Regions from separate parts of the Homo sapiens genome. Here region 1 is linked to region 2. The links are contacts of gene promoters, found by promoter capture Hi-C in blood cells and fetal thymus (Javierre and others, 2016). All regions are on one chromosome and are shown on one strand. Each heading gives the region's core, a stretch centred on a gene start or on the middle of the fragment in contact. The rest is flanking DNA. Distances are from core to core; before and after follow the strand shown.

Region 1 (4,034 bases), core at 935-3,434, 300 kb after region 2:
GGCGGGGATTGCTTGAGCCCAGGACGTCAGAACCAGCCTTGGCAACATGGCAAAACTCCATCTCTACTACAAATACAAAAATTAGCCAGGTTTGGTGGCATGTGCCTATAGTCCCAGATACTTGGGAGGCTGAGGCATGAGAATCACTTGAGCTTGAGCCCCGGAGGTGGAGGTTGCAATGAGCCAAGACTGTGTCACTCCACTCCAGCCTGGGCAATAGAATGAGACCCTGTCTCCTCCACTCCCCTTAAAAAAAAAAACAAAAACAAAAACAAAAAATACCAAACAAACAAAAAAAACCCAGTATTTCAATTATTACCTACCCTGTAGAATTCCCAACATTTTTGAACCATTTTTAATAGAAAAGGGTGTTTTCCTTCTATTCTGTAAAGTAGTATGAAATTGTAAACAGAAATGCATCTATTTTTATATGTCAACAATTCCATTTTTGTGACTTAGGGAGAAAATATTAAGAGGCCACTGAAGTTGTATTATATTTAAGGTTGCATTTTTTATCTGTCTAGGTATAAATAGGTATTCAGGTAAAAAGTTAAGGCACTGTCAACAGTGGATAATTAGCTAACTGGAGTATCAAGCAGCAAGCACAATGGATAACTGACTCCAGGAAATCAGGGACAAATTTAATACTAGAGTTTCAGACTACCCAAAGTCACATCAGTTTTTCTTTAAATAATTTTTTTTGTTGTTTGTAGAGACCAGGTCTTGCTATGTTGACCAGGCTGGTCTCGAACTCCTGGTCTCAACCTATTCTCCTGCCACGGCCTCCCAAAGTGTTGGAATTACAGGCATGAACAACCACGCCCAGCATCAGTATTTTTAAATGTTTCTTTATCTACCTTCTATTTTCTTTTATCTTGACTCTCCATCCTCCCTTTGACAGAATGTGTTTTGACTATAAGTTAAAAGCTCCTAATACTAAATAAATTTAAAATCTGAGGTTTTAAATAATAATTTTAAAAGTTTAAATATGCATAGAGTAAAATCTTCCTCATACTTCTTTCCCCAGCCACCCCATGCTTGCCATAGGCAACTGACACTGTCAGTTTCTTATTTATCCAGAGACATTTTATGTATATTTATTCAAATGTGCATATTCTCCTGACTTTCCCCACCTTTACACAAATGATACCATAATATACACGCAATTCTCTATTAAAGTTCAAGGATATATATTTTAAATCACTGTATATCAGTACGTGAAAAGCTTCCCAAGGGATTTCATGATTTGGTATTCCATTGTTACTTAATGTTTAATTGTTAACCAGCCCCTATTGAGGGACACTGAGGTTTTTTCTAAATTTTTGTTAAAATAAATAATGCTACCTGAGTAACACTGTATACACAATTTTGGGTCTATTCTTAAAAGTAAAATTTGCCACGTTGATTAATACTGCCAAATTAGCCAAACTGCCCTCTAGTAATATGAAAGTATGTTTTCCCACATTTTCTCCAACACACTGTATTGTATCATTTTTTTTTCATCATTGACAATCTGAGGGGTGAAAATACAGAAATAGAGTGTTTCAAGCATATAAATAATTTTTTTTTTAAGAGACTGAGTCTTGCTCTGTTGCCAAGGTTGTGGAATGCAGTGGTATGATCATAGCTCACTGTAACCTCTAACTCCTGGGCTCAAGTGATCCTCCAGCCTCAGCCCCCTGAGTAGCTGGGACTACAGGCACATGCCCACCATACCCAGCTAATATTTTTGTTCTTGTTTTTTATAGAGCCAGGTCTGCTATGTTACCCAAGCTAGTTTTGAACTCATGGCCTCAAGCAATCCTCCTACCTTGGCCTCTCAAAGCACTGAGTAATTTTTATTTACATAATTTATATATTAATACGTTTGTTATTGTTAATATAATAATTATAATTACACTGCTATTTAATACCACTAAGTTTAGGGTGGTCTGTTACACAGCTACAGATAACCAAACATATGTTTATACCTAGAAGAGGGGTGCTACTGCAACAAAACATAAACACGAGGTCATGACTTTGGGACTGGTGTTGGGGGCGGCAGAAGCTGAAGAACCTTGAAGAGACTGTGAGCAGAAGCCTAATGGCCTTCCAGAGCCTGTTGGTGAGGGCTTAAAGAAAAGCAAAAAAAAAAAAAAATTTTGGAACCTGGAGGAAAAGATATTCTTGTTATGTAGTGACAGAAGTTTATCAAAACTGTCATCTGTAATGACAGACATGGAAAATAGAAAATTAAGTATAGCTGTAGCTACACCTAATGAACTGACGTACTTGGCTAAAGAGTTCCAAGTAGGCCAGGCGCGATGGCTTACGCCTGTAATCCCAGCACTTTGGGAGGCCGAAGCGGGCGGATCACAAGGTCAGGAGATTGAGACCATCCTGCTGAACATGGTGAAACCCCGTCTCTACTAAAAATACAGAAAATTAGCCGGGCGTGGCAGTGTGCGCCTGTAGTCCCAGCTACTCGGGAGGCTGAGGCAGCATGAACCCGGGAGGCAGAGCTTGCAGTGAGCCGAGATTGCGCCAGCCTGGGTGACAGAGCCAGACTCTGTCTTAAAAAAAAAAAAACAAAAGAGTTCCAAGTATAGTGTTCATCACAAGCGCTAACTGGTTTCTTTTAGCTGAGTATGATAAGGACAGAGATAAGCATTAAAAAACAAAACAAAAACCTGTTTTGCTTTCAAGCAAAATTTAAAGGAAATATAAAAGAGTCAGGATTTGGTGGGTTCAAAAATAAAACTGCTTATTGTTTTCAAATAGATTCTCAAATAGAGAAGGGCTTCAAGCCAAAGATCAAATCTAGTGTGTGACCAAAAGATACTTTGAGATCTCAAAAAGATCTAAGGAGGTGCCCCTCAGAGAGTCTTTTTACCTTGAGGAAAAGGCCCTCTAAGAATCATAAGGATGTGTTTCCCAGATTCTATTGAATCAATAAGGTTACTCAGAACATTAAAGGTGTTACCTACAGCAGCCTCACAGGAAGCCCAAAATGGAGAAGGGCTTATCTTGATAAGATGTGTATCATGCATCTAATGAAGAAAATCCCATTAAGATTCACAGGAAACCCACAAACTTGTTGAGAATTGTGTCAATAAAAAACATGCTGGCTTATATTTAAAGTGAAAAAGAGGACAAAATGAAAAGAAGCTTCTAGACAAACTTCTACAGACAGGAAGTAGGCTGTGAAACAATTCAGCTGTAACAGACAACATATTCTGGAAACGGAAGAATAATTCAAGTGTAAAACCAGGAGCCCAAAGGGTAGAACCAAGAGCTGAGGAGAATCATTCCCAAGCAGTAGGACTGAGCTCTCATCAAGGAATTAGAAACATAGGGCCAGCTGAATTTTACACTTGTTATGGAATGGTGACTGCTGTGTGCCTCTTAGTTTCTGCCTTTTTGAATAGGAGTGTCTAGAGTGATTATCCTGTGTCTGTCATACCACCATATGCTGAATGTATGGGGAGCAGATAATTTGTCTCTTTAGTTTACAGGGCTTTAGATCACCAAAAAAAGTGTTTAAGAAGCTATACCCTAGGGACCACATTCAAGATGTCTTATCCATAGTAGGATCTGATTCAGATGACAAGATCTTGTTCCTAATGCTGATGCTTTGATGGCATTAGACTCTGGAGAGTCTTGGAGAAGGTTGTGAGTGGGAGGGATGTGCATGTGGGAGGGATGTCAGTTGGGTCCAGAAGGCTGAGGATAATATCCAAAATTGACTGCAACAATACTTCCTATACCACATGCTGTTCCAGAAACGTGCCCCTCTCCCAACAATAATAAGTTTTATGTACACTTCCCTTAAACAAGGGCAGGCCTTTGTTACTAATTCACTAATAGAAGGCAGTGAAAGTGATGCTCTGTAACTCCTGAGACTAAGACATAAAAAGGATACAGCTTCTACCTAGCTCTGCCTCTTGTCACACTTGCCCTTGGAACCCAGCCACCAAAGTGTATGGAAGTCCAGACACTTAAAGATGCCACAGATGGGTGATCCAGCCAACAGTCCCTGCTGAGGTGTCAGCTGC
Region 2 (3,700 bases), core at 224-2,723:
AGACTCAAGACATGCTGGTTATATGCTCTCGCAGTTCGTATGAATCTCTCCTTCTCCAAGTGACAGCTGGAATTCAGGTGCTTCTAGGCTCTGTTACTAGCAATGTTAGACACTCCTCGAAGCTGTCAAGCTCTCAGGATTACACAAGTGAAACCACAACCTGTCCTGACTGTATTCAAGTCTGTGCCCCTTCATGCAGCAGAAATGGATTCCTCTTCCACAGTTTCAGCAGCTGTATCCTTCCGTGGAAAAGGATTAGCAGCCATAAGCCCGGGGGAGGGCAGCTAAACACCAGAGGGCAGGAGATGAGTCTCCTTCCTCTCTGTGACACCCAGCACGGCCCTGCCACGAGGAGCAGGCAACCACTGGTGCCAGATGAAGCGCAGCACATAAAACCATTTTCCCCTTCAAATGAACGATGCCTAATTAAGCAAAAGCCGCATGCATGACTTAAGACATGAGGATATAAAATTCGTCTTCCGAGTCAGCTAGAGATTCTGCAGGATCCTCTACCCTCGTAAACGTATTTTTTTATGATTAGAAAAACCCGGGGCCTGGAAGGGACCTCGGCCATCGGCAGGGTAAGCTTCTCAGGAGAGACCATGAGCCCGAGCCCCACAGGGGGATCAGTGTCTGCCAAGGTCACCAAGCGGGTGTGAGGCAAGGGCAGGGCTCCTCGGGGATGCTCTCGGAAAACCCTGCGTTACTTACACACGCAAGGCGTACAATGAATGCACACCCGCGTCAAGCCACGGCTTACAATTCAGAAGAAATCAAAAGGTCGCCAAAACCTGTCTTCTCCGCAAGGCTGGCTGCAGAGAGGGTGCAGGGAAGGTCACCGGCAAATTTCTACCAGCGGCCCCACATCACGCCTCCCCGATGGATGCAGAGAGAGGTTTCAGGAGCTGCTAGTAACCTTGCAGGGGGTTCCCTAAGCCCATCCCAGGAAAACGAGTTAACTCGGCTCTGCTAACTCCGAAGCTTCCAGCAATGAATTAAATCCCGAGCTGCAGCGGAAAGCGGCGGGGAAAGGGCCACTGCGGCGGGACCCGACACCCGGCGGTCCGCCCCACCCTCTACCGCGTACACACCTGCGTGGGACCCCCCGCCCGGTCCACACGGCCCGGGACCACGACCCTCCGCCCGCGCCCCAGCCGGGCTCGCCTGAGGGTGTCGTGCCCTGGGCGCTGCCCGCGGGGTTCGAGGCGGAAACGCCGCGCCCAGCCGGCCCGGGAAGAGACAAGTCGCCGCCGCAGCCCCCAGCCCGCGGGCCCCCGCGACGCCGAGGAGGGGGCTGCGCCACGTACCTCGGCCGGCAGGTGCCGCCGCTGCCTCGGTCCGCGGCTGCAGGGGACGCCGCTCCGCGCAGCCCGCCGCCTTCGTCCGCATACTAATGAGGGGGCGCCGGCCGGCCGCCAGCCCGGTACCCCGCGCCCCCACCCGCCCCCAGCGCCGCTCTCGCGCCCATTCAGCTGGGGGCCGCCGCTCCCCCGCTCAGATGCGGAGGAGGGGCGCGTGGGCGGGGTCTGACGTCACGAGGACGCGGACGGCCAATCGGAGAGCACGATGCCTCCGCGGCGGCCCCCGCCCCCGGGCGCGCGGCCAGTCAGCCCTGCGGTGCGGTGGGCATTGCCAGAGCAGGGCGCCCCCTGCAGGGACGCACCCGGGGCGGGGGCCAGGCTGGGGCGAGCCCCCCTTGGTTCTGGAGAGGAAATGACATACAGTTTGTGAAAGCATAAATATTCGTGAAAATAAGAAAATTCAGGAAGGAAACAAAGCTTAAGGCAGTGATTGATAGGTTATTTCTTGGACACAGCTGAACGTATACTGTGCGCCTGCAACTTTCCGGTGGTTTCGGACCGGACTTCAGTGAAGCCAGTGAAGTCGGTCGACTTGCAGAACTTCCTTTCAGAGGGGCGTACACAGCACCGCGGCCGTGTGCCTGTGATCTCCTTCTGAGTTTGAAAAAGAAGATCCTAGACACCGAGCCAAATATGTTTGCATAAACCGGGAGACTTGTGGCTCTATTTTGTAACAGCTTGGCGCAGGGCAGCTGGTTTGGAGATGTCTCTGTTCTTCCCTTGGTGGGGGTGCCGGAAAAAATGTGCTGCCTGGGCGATCGAGGTTGGGGCAAAAGCGTTGCAAAGGAAAAGGTGGGAGGACTCTACTTTCACATTTCCCAAAAGAGTTTTACCATAAGACTATTTCTGGATTGTTCTAACGTGAGGATATTGGGAGCATTTTGAAAATACTGGAGGAAAAGCTGTCACTGGGCGATTTAAATCCGGTAAGTTGGCCAAGGCAGAGCAGCTGCTGGGGTCAGCGACAGCTGACCCTTGCAGCTGAGTATCTTGCCCTCTTAATCTTGGAGATCAGCCCAAGGCCCATGTGTTACAGGAAAGGGGTCCCGATCTAGACCCCAAGAGAGGGTTCTTCGATCTCACGCAAGAAACAATTCAGAGTAAGTCCACAGTGCAAAGTAAAAGCAAGTTTATTAAGAAAGTAAAGTGGTGGCTGGGCACAGTGGCTCACGCGTAATCCCAGCACTTTGGGAGGCTGAGACGGACAGATCACCTGATGTCAGGAGTTCAAGACCAGCTGGCCAACATGGCAAAACCCCGTCTCTACTAGAAATACAAATATTGGCCGGGCGTGGTGGCGCAAGCCTGTTGTCTCAGCTACTCACGGGGCTGAGGCAGGAGAATCGCTTGAACCCGGGAGGCAGAGGCTACAGTGAGCCGAGATCGCCACTGCACTCCAGCAGGGCATTCCTGAAAATAAGAGGAGGGACATATCCAACTAAGGTACAATGCTTGTAATGCTTGTATATATGGGCAGATGTCTTCTGCTACAAGGGTTTGTGATAAAGGATTAATTTTCCCTAATTACTATATTTTGCAATAATCAATATTATTATTTTTAAAGCAAAATTAGGAATGCCTTTGTTCTCCAGATATCGGGATATCTGGACTCTCTCAAGTCTGGGTCTGTTTAGTAAGCATTATTAATTTGTTCTCTTAACCATAAACACCTAGAGGCTAGGAATGCCTAGCTTTCAGGAAATGCAGCCTAGCAAGTCCCAGCCTCATTTTTCTAGCCCTCACTCAAAATGGAGGCGCTCTGGTTTGAACACTTCTGACACATGTGCTTGATGCAACACTCTTTACCTCTCTTTGTCTCCCCTGTCCTTCCCCTTCTCTTCCAGATTCCCCTTGTCGGCAAAGCCAGGCGCTGATAGCGTTATGGCTGCCATGAGAGTCAGCAGTATCCCAGCTTCCAAGGATGGGTGTAAGGTGGGGGTGAGGAAGAAAAGGAACTTGAAGCTGCCTCCTGTCCCAGAATCACAAGACATCTGTTAAGCCCTTACTACCTCATTCACTCCACTCACATTAGGTTGACCCACTTGGGCAGCAAGACAAGCAGGCCTGCAAACTTCCTTTTCTTCATCAGCCACAGAGACATCCTCAGCTATTATTCTGGATTAAGGCAGAGATCTCCAAACAGCAGACTAAGATCAGCCTCTAGATCTCAAAGCCTTACTGTTATCTCTCCAAGTCAGTGGCTGATCTCAGAGAAGCTTCTGAATAGTGACTAGCAAAGAGTCACTCAGGCTACTTACAAATCCAGGACAGCAGCGTTTTTTTTTTTTTCTTTTTTAGAGACAGATTCACTCTGTCATCCAAGCTGGAGTGCAGTGGCA

Evidence for each region. Contacts are between HindIII fragments. The CHiCAGO score rates a contact against its expected background, and 5 or more counts as called.
Region 1: a fragment that was not itself captured here is called in contact with the fragment with the promoter of ST3GAL5 in region 2 in 1 of 17 cell types (activated CD4 T cells); the score reaches 5.4 in activated CD4 T cells.

Annotation. Positions count from the first base shown.
Region 1 is chr2:86,182,615-86,186,648 of GRCh38, forward strand. The region is part of intron 1 of IMMT (inner membrane mitochondrial protein); the gene reads right to left. Among named protein-coding and RNA genes, the nearest start is that of MIR4779, 8.5 kb to the right of the region's middle. The HindIII fragment of the contact is 1,922 bases long and covers 1,224-3,145 here.
Region 2 is chr2:85,887,517-85,891,216 of GRCh38, forward strand. It overlaps ST3GAL5 (ST3 beta-galactoside alpha-2,3-sialyltransferase 5), which reads right to left and starts at 1,474. Exons shown (of 7, transcript NM_003896.4): 1 at 1,308-1,474. The coding sequence starts at 1,389. It overlaps ST3GAL5-AS1 (ST3GAL5 antisense RNA 1), which reads left to right and starts at 1,764. Exons shown (of 3, transcript NR_110569.1): 1 at 1,764-2,287; 2 at 3,660-3,689. RefSeq lists enhancers at 56-175, 186-315, 654-1,154, 846-925 and silencers at 1,096-1,215, 1,256-1,875. The HindIII fragment of the contact is 797 bases long and covers 980-1,776 here.